Regions from separate parts of the Homo sapiens genome. Here region 1 is linked to region 2. Evidence: promoter capture Hi-C in human tissues and cell types (Jung and others, 2019). All regions are on one chromosome and are shown on one strand. Each heading gives the region's core, a stretch centred on a gene start or on the middle of the fragment in contact. The rest is flanking DNA. Distances are from core to core; before and after follow the strand shown. Region 1 overlaps TP53BP1 (tumor protein p53 binding protein 1). Region 2 holds the start of ZSCAN29 (zinc finger and SCAN domain containing 29).

The links. Contacts are between HindIII fragments. The study calls those that stand out against the background at their distance.
Region 1: a fragment that was not itself captured here is called in contact with the fragment with the promoter of ZSCAN29 in region 2 in 2 of the 25 tissues and cell types used here (H1 embryonic stem cells and IMR-90 fibroblasts).

The regions. Positions count from the first base shown.
Region 1 is chr15:43,472,793-43,478,633 of GRCh38, reverse strand. TP53BP1 (tumor protein p53 binding protein 1) reads left to right here. Exons shown (of 28, transcript NM_001141980.3): 8 at 875-1,041; 9 at 2,940-3,069; 10 at 3,867-3,961. Among named protein-coding and RNA genes, the nearest start is that of TP53BP1, 17 kb to the left of the region's middle. RefSeq lists a silencer at 1,189-1,430. The HindIII fragment of the contact is 4,460 bases long and covers 2,265-5,841 here.
Region 2 is chr15:43,368,872-43,374,657 of GRCh38, reverse strand. It overlaps ZSCAN29 (zinc finger and SCAN domain containing 29), which reads left to right and starts at 3,615. Exons shown (of 6, transcript NM_001372080.1): 1 at 3,615-4,100; 2 at 4,633-5,062; 3 at 5,531-5,735. The coding sequence starts at 4,745. It overlaps TUBGCP4 (tubulin gamma complex component 4), which reads right to left and starts at 3,557. Exons shown (of 18, transcript NM_014444.5): 1 at 3,226-3,557. The coding sequence starts at 3,303. RefSeq lists an enhancer at 3,427-3,546 and a silencer at 3,647-3,916. The HindIII fragment of the contact is 7,589 bases long and covers 1-5,786 here.

The DNA of each region.
Region 1 (5,841 bases), core at 3,245-5,744, 100 kb before region 2:
GGGGAATGTGCCTCTGCTTCATCTCTCGTGATTTTTATAACCAAAGCTTCATTACCTCTGGCCAGTAAGTGAAGTTTGAATATGGCAGAAGAAAACTGGGATGCTTCCAGTTTGGGATAGGGGATAAATAAACAGTATTGTTTTGTTATTTCCTTCAATGGAAAGAGTGGGGAGAGAGTGTCCTAAGCAAAGTTGAATATCAAGAGAAATTGTCTTTCTAATGTAAAACACTCAGCATAACAGTGACTTTTTAGGCTTTTCTTTTAGATGCTGCCTTCCATCTAGTTATGCTATTCTGTTTACCCTGGGGAGTGGTAGAACAGGTGAACCTCATAAGTCTCTGGAAAGGGGCCAGGGATGAATGTCTTATACATGTTAGTATTGATCTGAAGGAGAATTGGTTTGGGGTTTGGGTACATCAAATGGAAAAGGTCAGCAGAAGATGTGTGTGGCACTAGTAAGGAGGATAATTGACATCAAATGCTTTCCATGGAATGTCATGGTTTGGACTGTTCTCCTTACTGGCATCATTGGGGTCTGGATCAGAATTCTTTATACAGGTCTAGATAACATTATATGTAACAAAAATTCCCCAAGTTACTCATCAGAAATCTTAGAAAGCATGAAGCACAGTATTGAGCAGAGTTGAAGACAGGTATTGGCTGTGAGAGAGAGTGAGACAGGTTTTAAAATGGGCTGAGGACTTTTATCACTATAAAGAGTAGTTTATTTCCTTTTTAATATATAATTATGTAAATTAGAGCCACTGGAATTTTTGAAATTATTAAAGAAAAACACACAAAACAGGAAAAGCTTTTTATTTAAAAACATTTGAACTTAGGAACTTTTTCTCCTGGTGATATGAATTTCCTAGGTCAGAGGACATGCCTTTTAGCCCCAAAGCATCTGTTGCTGCTATGGAAGCAAAAGAACAGTTGTCTGCACAAGAACTTATGGAAAGTGGACTGCAGATTCAGAAGTCACCAGAGCCTGAGGTTTTGTCAACTCAGGAAGACTTGTTTGACCAGAGCAATAAAACAGGTACCAAGAGTGATTTGTCGTTACAGCTCTTCTCCAAAGATCTAAACTTTTACTTTAGTTCTGAGGCTACTGGTTAAGTTACAAAGCATTTTATAGGTTTGCAGACTTGTTTGTGATATGGAAGGAAAACGTGTTTCTAGTAATTAGTGAGAAGGGCTTTTTGGGAATAATTTCCATTTAATATTTTGACATAATTTTCTCTCTTTTGGAAATGAGATGGTGAAGAATAGCTAATACAGTAAATTTAGTATTATGGATACTAGCCATTTTCTTTTTTTCTTTTTTTTTTTTTTGAGATGGAGTCTCACTCTGTCACCCAGGCTGGAGTGCAGTGGCGCAATCTCGGCTCACTGCAAGCTCCGCCTCCCGGGATCATGCCATTCTCCTGCCTCAGCCTCCCTAGTAGCTGGGACTACAGGCACCCGCCACCATGCTTGGCTAATTTTTTGTATTTTTAGTAGAGATGGGGTTTCACTGTGTTAGCCATGATGGTCTTGATCTCCTGACCTTGTGATCCGCCTGCCTTGGCCTCCCACAGTGCTGGGCTTACAGGCATGAGTCACCACACCTGGCTGCCATTTTCTGTTACATGGCTACTATGTCTTCAAATCTTCAATATGATATTAAGCCTAGGTTTTTCATATTCATCTGGGTAACAGTTTACTAACTTAATCTGTTTATTAGTTAATCTGACACAGATAGGAATTTAAAATCTAGCGGAAAGGACATAAAACTTAAAAGGATATAATTTGTTTCACACCTCTTTAACCTCCACCAATCTTTCATTCCACAGCCTCAGAGAGCTAGAAAGCTTGAGTTAATTACCAGCAAAACATATTATGTTGGTTGTAAGGCGGGAAGGGAAGAAGGCTATCTTCCTTTGCTATGCTGTGATACAGGTTGCTGTGCAAGACATTCAGAGGGTCACCGAGGAACCTTTGTTGGTCTCTTACTAAAGTTGTAAGGTTTTATTTAAGAAATTCTTTTACACTGGGATTAATATAGTTGATACTCCATCTATTGCTAAGGGGAAGGGACCAACAAGAGACTCTTCATAGTATAAAACAGTAATGGCTGCTCATAAATCCTTTTACTCCTTTGAGCAGGCCCAAATCTTGAAAACTGCTGCATTTATAACATCAAGTGTCATGTGCATTTTTTTGACTTCTCCCATCTGTATCATGGCATGAGCTTGACTTCACCTAAGGTAGACGTTGGAATAAAAGGCTCATTTGCTGTTTTTTAATAGAAGCATCACAAGAAAGAAGAGCAGCTAAGCAGAAGTATAAGGATTCTGGCTTTTATTTTATTTATTTATTTATTTTTTTGAGACGGAGTCTCCCTCTGTTGCCCAGGCTGGAGTGCAGTGGTGCAATCTCAGCTCACTGCAACCTCTGCCTAGCAGGTTCAAGTGATGCTCCTGCCTTAGCCTTCCAAGTAGCTGGGATTACAGGCGCATACCACCACGCCCAGCTAATTTTTGTATTTTTAGTAGAGATGAGGTTTCACCATGTTGGTCTGGCTAGTCTTGAACTCCTGACCTCAGATGATCCACCCGCCTCAGCCTCCCAAAGTGCTAGGATTACAGGTGTGAGCCACTGCGCCCATCCAGGATTCTGGCTTTTAATCTCCAAGCTTAGATCATGACAGAAAGGACTAAGGAACTCTTCATCAGTTCTTTATTCAAGAAGCCCATTGCGGGGGTGGTTAATGTTCACTCAAGATTTGTGCTATTGTAGTAGTCCATTCGTTGTACTATAATTAGAAAACAATTTCTGCCCTTTTGGAAATATGGAAATATGTTGGAAATATGGATATTACTCTTTGCAGTACTGAATGGTTTTTGGCAGCTCAGTAGTGTCAATCTGAGAAGTGCAACTGGAATTTCTTTTTTTCAGTATCTTCTGATGGTTGCTCTACTCCTTCAAGGGAGGAAGGTGGGTGTTCTTTGGCTTCCACTCCTGCCACCACTCTGCATCTCCTGCAGCTCTCTGGTCAGAGGTCCCTTGTTCAGGACAGTCTTTCCACGTAAGTAAGCCTAAAATAGCTTATGCCAAGGCAGTATGTGCCTGAGAGTCTTAGGCTAAGGCTGAAAGAGGCTAAACTTATCTGCTAGTCTAGAATTCTTTTTGAAACCAAATGGTAGAACCTATGCATTAGAGCTTTGGGGATGAAGAACTGTTGAAGGCAGATAAATCTGTTGTCCCATTTGAAAATTTTATAATAGTAGCCCAAACGTTTCACTAAGAAAGAAAAGGCGCAGTTATTTAGAAAATGTTACACATCCAAAACAAGCATTCTGCTCCTCTGTTTTACTTGCAATTCTTCTCATTTAATAGCAGAGGGTGGAGAATAGGTTGTTAAGTTGACAGTAGTTGGATTTCTTTATGTTAGGGCAAAGAGGTTCGCTTGTTGGTTTTTTTTGTTTAGTTTTAGTTTTCTGATGAAAATGTTCATGGTCTGACTATTATTAGGCAAAAAAATGGAATAATTTTTTTTATGTCTCAAATCTGCAAATGAATTTATTTCCTAGCACTGCTCATTTTGCTTTTAAATCATGATGTCCTTGTGTCTGATCATTCACTTTGCCCTTACTCTCTTTTTGAAAAAGTTCTTATTTTACAACAGAAATGTCTGGTGTGGGAAATAGTTATTGAAGTATTTTTGGTTCTTCCACCAGCCTCAGGTTGCTGTTGGGGAAAAGTGCTGATAAGTATTTATCTGAATGCCTTAGATATTTTTTCCTGTTAAAAAGTAAAAGCAAATACAGAAATGCAAAACTGTGGCTATGGTAAAATAACCTGTGATTCTCTCTTTATATAAAGGAATTCTTCAGATCTTGTTGCTCCTTCTCCTGATGCTTTCCGATCTACTCCTTTTATCGTTCCTAGCAGTCCCACAGAGCAAGAAGGGAGACAAGGTGAGCTCTCTTGATCTGTCTGTTGATCTCAGATTAGAAGAGGAGCAACACTTTTTCTGCCTTGCAAAATGTACTACTTCTTTGTACTTTAGAATGCTTGTGACCTACACAATTCGGTAGGACTCATGTTTGTCTAACCTTTAGGGATGTGACCTACTGTAAAGTGCTGTCCTCAGTTCTTTGCTTTTCCTTCCTTCCTTTTTTTTTTTTTTTTTTTGTCTAACCCCATTGAGAGGTGACAGCGTGCTGGCAGTCCTCACAGCCCTCGCTCGCTCTCGGCGCCTCCTCTGCCTGGGCTCCCACTTTGGCGGCACTTGAGGAGCCCTTCAGCCCACCGCTGCACTGTGGGATCCCCTTTCTGGGCTGGCCAAGGCTGGAGCCCGCTCCCTCAGCTTGCAGGGAGGCGTGCAGGGAGAGGTGCGAGCAGCAACCGGGGCTGTGCGCGGCGCTTGCGGGCCAGCTGGAGTTCCTGGTGGGTGTGGGCTTGGCGGGTCCTGCACTCGGAGCAGCCGGCCGGCCCTGCCGGCCCCCCGGGCAATGAGGGGCTTAGCACCCGGGCCAGCGGCTATGGAGGGTGTACTGGGTCCCCCAGCAGTGCTAGCCCACCGGCGCTGCGCTTGATTTCTCGCCGGGCCTTACTTAGCTGCCTTCCAGTGGGGCAGGACTCGGGACCTGCAGCCCGCCATGCCTGAGCCTTCCACCCCCTCCGTGGGCTCCTGTGTGGCTGAGCCTCCCTGATGAGCACTGCCCCCTGCTCCACGGCACCTAGTCCCATCGACCACCCAAAGGGCTGAGGAGTGCAGGAGCACGGCACAGGACTGGTAGGCAGCTCCACCTGCAGCCCCCGTGCGAGATCCACTGGGTGAAGCCAGCTGGGCTGCTGAGTCTGGTGAGGACGTGGAGAACCTTTATGTCTAGCTCAGGGATTGTAAATACACCAATCGGCACTCTGTATCTAGCTCAGGGTTTGTAAACACACCAGTCAGCACCCTGTGTCTAGCTCTGAGTTTGTGAATGCACCAATCCACACTCTGTATCTGGCTGCTCTGGTGGGACGTGGAGAACCTTTATGTCTAGCTCAGGGATTGTAAATACACCAATCGGCACTCTGTTTCTAGCTCAAGGTTTGTAAACACACCAATCAGCACCCTGTGTCTAGCTCAGGGTTTGTGAATGTACCAATGGACACTCTGTATCTAGCTACTCTGGTGGGGCCTTGGAGAACCTTTGTGTGGACACTCTGTATCTAGCTAATCTGGTGGGGACGTGGAGAACCTTTGTGTCTAGCTCAGGGATTGTAAATGCACCAATCAGCCCCCTGTCAGCACAGACCACTGGCTCTACCAATCAGCAGGATGTGGGTGGGGCTAGATAAGAGAATAAAAGCAGGCTGCCCGAGCCAGCAGTGGCAACCCGCTCGGGTCCCCTTCCACAGTGTGGAAGCTTTGTTCTTTCACTCTTTGCAATAAATCTTGCTACTGCTCACTCTTTGGGTCCACGCTGCTTTTATGAGCTGTAACACTCACTGCGAGGTCTGTAGCTTCACTCCTAAAGCCAGCGAGACCACGAGCCCACTGGGAGGAACGAACAACTCTAGACGCGCTGCCTTAAGAGCTGTAATACTCACCGCGAAGGTCTGCAGCTTCACTCCTGAACCAGCGAGACCACGAACCCACCAGAAGGAAGAAACTCCGAACACATCTGAACATCAGAAGGGACAGACTCGAGACGCGCCACCTTAAGAGCTGTAACTCTCACCGTGAGGGTCCGCGGCTTCATTCTTGACGTCAGTGAGACCAAGAACCCACCAATTCTGGACACACCATCCCCCATTCTTTGCTTTTCTAGCACTAATTCTATTGAGATTTCTGTATTGGCTC
Region 2 (5,786 bases), core at 2,366-4,865:
GAACTGCTAGATTGTATGGGAATTTTATATTTAATTTTTTTTTTTAGAGACAAGGTTTCACTCTGTCACCCAGACTGGAATACAGTGGTGGGTTCATAGCTCACTGTAACCTTGAACCCCTAGGTTCAACCAATTCTCCCACCTCAGCCACCAGAGTAGCTAGGACTACAGGCATGTGTCACCATGCCCAGCTAATTAAAAATTTTTTTTTTGTAGAGATGGAGTCTTGCTCTGTTGCGCAGGCTAGCCTCAAACTCCTGGCATTAACTGATCCTCCAGCCTCACCCTCCCAAAGTGCTGAGATCACAAGTGTCAGCCGCTGTGCCTGGCCTTTATTTAATTTTTTGAAGAACTGCCATACCATTTTCCACAATGGCTGTACCATTTTACATTTCCATTACTATATCCCAGGTACTGTGCTAATACTTTGAGATAAAAGAGTGAACAAAATCAGATACAATTACTGCTCCAAAGGAACTTAGCATATTATATGGATGGATATATAATATGGATTATATGTGGATGCCATTTTATATGACAGTAAATGTGGTAACAAATAGGCGAAGAAGAATTTTTCTGTTACCAAGTCCATAGAAAATTGATTAGGAATCCAATTAATGTAGATTTTAATGACACAATGCTAATCACATCTTCAAGTTAGTAACTTAAGAGGTTGCACAACACGGTGCTTAAGAACCTGGTCTCTTGCCGGGCGCAGTGGCTCACGCCTGTAATCCCAGCACTTTGGGAGGCCGAGGTGGGCGGATCACGAGGTCAGGAGATCGAGACCATCCTGGCTAACACGGTGAAACCCCATCTTTACTAAAAAAACTACAAAAAAATTAGCCGGGTGTGGCGGCAGGCGCCTGTAGTCCCAGCTGCTCGGGAGGCTGAGGCAGGAGAATGGCGTGAACCCAGGAGGTGGAGCTTGCAGTGAGCCGAGATTGCACCACTGCACTCCAGCCTGGGCGACAGAGCGAGACTCCATCTCGGAAAAAAAAAAAAAAAAAAAGAACCTGGTCTCTGGAGCCCAACTGCCTGGGTTTGAATCCCTGAGTTGCCTCTTACTTGCTTGAAAGCTTAGGCAAGTTACTATACCTGTCTGTGCCTGTTTTCATACCTATAAACTGAAGAAAATAATTGTGAGGATTAAATAAGTTAATACATGTGTAAAGCACATATCCCAACCACATAGCTAGTGCTCAATACACATAAGCAATTTTATATTATTAACAAGACAGCTCTACCAGTTATCAAGTGATACTACTATTAAAATTGGCATTTGAGCGTTTCTTGTTGGCAGAGTTTTCGAAAAGTTCAATATCTAATTATTCTGAAACAGCAAATAATAACTCGAAGTTACTGATACCATTCTATATAACACAGTTATAGGAACAGGCTGAGAAATCCTGCATTAGAATAATGGTCATTTGAACTTATTGATTTGGTAGTTTTGTTTACTTTTAATTTATAAAAATATTTGATTTTATAGTTGTTTAAGAGTATTATGCTTGAGTTTATACCTAGCTTATGTATATACATATTCAATATAATAAAATAATTTTCATTAACACTTGGCACTCATGACAACTTTTCCCTTTACTCAAATGTAAAAGACACTGCTCTGCAGAAATTATGTAATATTTGCCATCTTTGTCTTCTTTTCTTCCATCAATACCTAAACACCTGCTATGTGGCAGAAACTGTGCTAGGTGCTCTGGGTAGATGAATGAAGAAGACCACTGGTCTTCGCTCCCAGGGGCAATCTATGCGGGAGAAAGGCTAAAAACAGGTAACAACAATACATTATGAATTGTGACAAATCCTACAAGGGAAATAAACAAGTTGATGGAGAATAATGGCATCAGGGGAGGATGCTTAAAGATGTGCTCAGAGAAAGTTTTTCTGACAAAGTGACTTTAAAGCTGAGACCTTGAGGATGAAATGGTAGAAAATACATGATTGAGAATTTTTCATAAGAAAGAAAGGAAGGGAAAAGATGAATTACTTGTGGTTGTCTCCCCCACCCCCTCCCTAGCTATCTTTCCTGTACTGTGTTATCTCTTCTTATTTTGGACCATCAGGCACCCACATACTTCCTAAATACTGTCCTCCTATATGCCTGGCATTGTACTAAGATCTATGGAGAAAAGTGAAACATCGAATTAGTCTTCAAAGACCTACAGGTGAAAGATAACAATTCAAACTCCACCACACAAATCTTCACCTGTTTTTTTCAAAAATTCACCTAAACTCCCAAACTCCAAATACATGTTCATAAATAATAACGAAAGGAAACTGTTTGATTTATAGGTTTTATAGACTAAGAATGTACTTTTTCTGCTCTTCCACAGTCTCCTAAGAATCGGCATGTCTTGGTGATCAGACGGACCTAGATTTCAGTCTTGCCACTACTAGGACTGGCCAGCATAAAGTTTTCTGAGCTTCAGTTTGCTCATTTGTTAACTGGTAGAAACAATACCTAAGTGGACTAAATTATTGAGAGCATTAGATAACATTACTGGAAGCAGAAGCAGGTAAAAGTAGTTCAAATACTGAAGCCAGACAGACCTGGCTTCAAAACTAAGCTCTGTTAATTACTAGCTATGACCCCGATAGTTATTTAACTATTCTAAACCTAGCTTAATCTGTAAAATGGATAAGGTGGTTGTGAGGATTAAATAAGATAATGCATACGGAACATCATACATTCCTGGTTACACAAAGGCCCCCTACCAAGTGCTTTACCTAGTGCAGAAATTTTCTGGTAAAGGAGTAATGAGGGAAACACCACACGCTCTCGATTTCATTTATTTCCTTCAACAAACTTTACTGAGCGCTTACCATGTGTTTGGGAGCTGTGTATTTGGCCCAGTACTTCAAAACTCAAACAATGCACGTGTGAAAATAAATAGGAGAAAGTGCCTCCCACACTTCTATATCATTCCCCAGCAACTGTCAGACACCTGGACCTCAGGCCCTTTCCTCGCCCCGCCACAGGTGGGGCTCTTCGAGGTCTGCCCTCCGTTTTCTAGCCTAGGCCCGGCCTCTCTAGGTGTCGCATCAGCCTTGACCCTAAGGGGCTGCCCTCCAGTCACCTGTCCAGGGATACGCCCCCAGCCCTGGAAGCCCCGCTCGCTAGGTCCCTCAGCCTACTCCCCCAGGCGCTGGCTCAGGTCCCCCCTCCTGCGCTCCCTGGTTCCCGCGCTCTGCGCCGGACAGTACCTGCAGGCCACTCCGCTTGTTCCAGGTGAAAATGGACCCAGGGTACCCGCTCAGAGCCAAGAGCAGTTCGTGGATCATTCCCACGGCGGACCTCGAGTCCCTGGTTATGTCACCCCCTCCTCCAGCGCACCTCCAGGCGACCACGAGGGGAGTGCTTCCCCTTCCACACGCGCACCGGCCCCTGGGTCGGGCGGTTTGTGCCGAATCAACCCACCGAGACAATCGCTGCGGCGGAGCGGACGGGAAGCTGGGAAGGGGTCGCGGGGGAGTCCCGGAAGTTCGGCAGCTCAACGGGGTCCACCAGCTACTCCCGCCCGGGCTCTGCGGAGACTGAGTCGCGGTCGCTGCCCTCGCGCATGCGCCCTCGGTGCCCCGAGCCGCCCGCTCGGACTTCCGGTTTGGGAGCTGTACTTGGGAGGCTGGAGAGCCGGGGCCGGGGCCGGGGCCGGGGCCGGGGTCAGGGTCGGACCCCGAGTGGGTGAGGCTGGCCCGGAGGCAAGGATGCGAGGGGGTTGAGGGGCAGCTCGAGAGGGAGACGCTCCCAGGGGTGGGCTGGAGGGCGCCCTCAGGGCGCCTTAGCCGGGTCAGAGGCCTCTGGAGGGACCGCACGACGGCTCCGGGTTACCCGGCCGGAGGGAGCGGAGACAAAAGAGGCCAGAATCCCGCAGCCGCTGCTCCTTGGGCTGAGAGCTCTGCGTCCGCGAACCGGCAGCACCTGGAGCCTCTGGCCGACACCCGAGCCCGTCCTCAGGAAGCCCGTTACTACTGCTCCTCGGATTCCGTCTCTCCTGCCCAATGTGACTCTCCCCAAGCCCCCATGGTCCTCGCTTTGGAGCCAAAACCAGCTTCTCTCCTTGCGCGAGGTTTTCCGACAGGTAGCTCCCTAATCCTTGCTGAGCGGCTACTACTACGCGGGGAAAACAAAGACCCGAGATTCTGGACGTGATTTTTGCCTGGGGTGGGCTTTGGGAGTTGTGCAGCCCGAGGGGGCGGGGCGGACGCAGAAGGCCTCGGGAAGGACTGCGGAGATACTGGGGGAGATCAGCTGCGACCAGCTGGACAGAGGCTTTTTGTTGCCTTCAAGCAGGATGGTGACTTGTCTTTAGATCCTCTCGAACTCCAGCTCTCCTATATGGTTCGGACTCACTGTGCAACATTGGCCAGGGAAGTTAAATGGGATCGGATTTGGAGGAGGTGGGAGAGGGGCAGACAGTACTTTTATTCTCTGCTGCTTCCTGGGGCTGCCCTGGAAGTCAACCAGAAAAGCAGTTTTTGCAAAGTCTATTTACTGAAGATTGTGCTACCTTAGAAGGCCACTCGGAGCACATGGAAAGGCAGGCCAGCTCTGGCAAGACTTTAGACATATGAATGTATTCCTTCTGATAGTGCCATCTTTCTCTGCCCTAGGAAGAAACACCTCTTACAGTCATCTGCAGGGGATTCTCCAAGGACATGGGAAGATAGATGTAAGCCCTGGAACCCAGACTCCTAAGCGAAGGGAAGCTGCATTCTGCTATTAATGATGGCCAAATCAGCTCTAAGAGAGAATGGCACTAACTCTGAGACCTTCCGACAGCGTTTCAGGAGATTCCATTACCAGGAGGTGGCTGGGCCGCGGGAGGCTTTCAGCCAACTCTGGGAACTTTGCTGTCGGTGGCTAAGGCCGGAGGTGCGCACCAAGGAGCAGATTGTAGAACTGTTGGTGCTAGAGCAGTTCCTGACCGTCTTACCTGGGGAGATCCAGAATTGGGTACAGGAACAATGTCCAGAAAATGGAGAGGAGGCAGTGACTCTCGTGGAAGATTTAGAAAGAGAGCCTGGAAGACCTAGATCTTCGGTGAGAAGGGAGGGGGAATTCAAATTCAAAAGTGTGATACTGGGTGGAGGGCTAAATTAAGATATAGACAGGCTTAAAGAGGGACACAGTCTCCCTTGGTGAGGCTTATACTTCTGGTCTGGTATAGGTAACTTTTTCAGATAGTGCTTGTCTGGAGATGCTTCCTGGGTGTACCTTCACCTACCCTGTCATAATGAGTTTTTCCTATAGTTTCTTAATAGGGAAGAAAGGGGATTTTTTTTTTTCAGCCTGAAGGTGGGTTTACTATTTTGATCGTTTCCTTCTGGAGTTTCAACTGCTTTAAGCTAATGGCAATGGAATAAGACCCTTGTTCGCGTTAACCTCCCTCACCCCTACAACCCTGGCCATGGCTCTGAAAGATGATCTCTTTTGGGGTATTAAATACTCTCCTCTGGGAATGCCCCTCATTATGATCTTGCAGTGACAATTAACGGGGGTTGTTTCTAGGTCACAGTCTCTGTGAAGGGGCAGGAAGTGCGCTTGGAGAAGATGACACCCCCGAAATCATCACAAGAGTTATTAAGTGTTCGGCAGGAGTCAGTGGAACCCCAGCCCAGGGGTGTACCCAAGAAAGAGAGGGCAAGAAGCCCAGACCTGGGACCACAGGAGCAGATGAACCCAAAGGAGAAGCTCAAACCTTTTCAAAGGAGCGGTGAGGAGTAGATTCATATGGGAAGATAGACTGCCATTCCAAGTTGGGAAG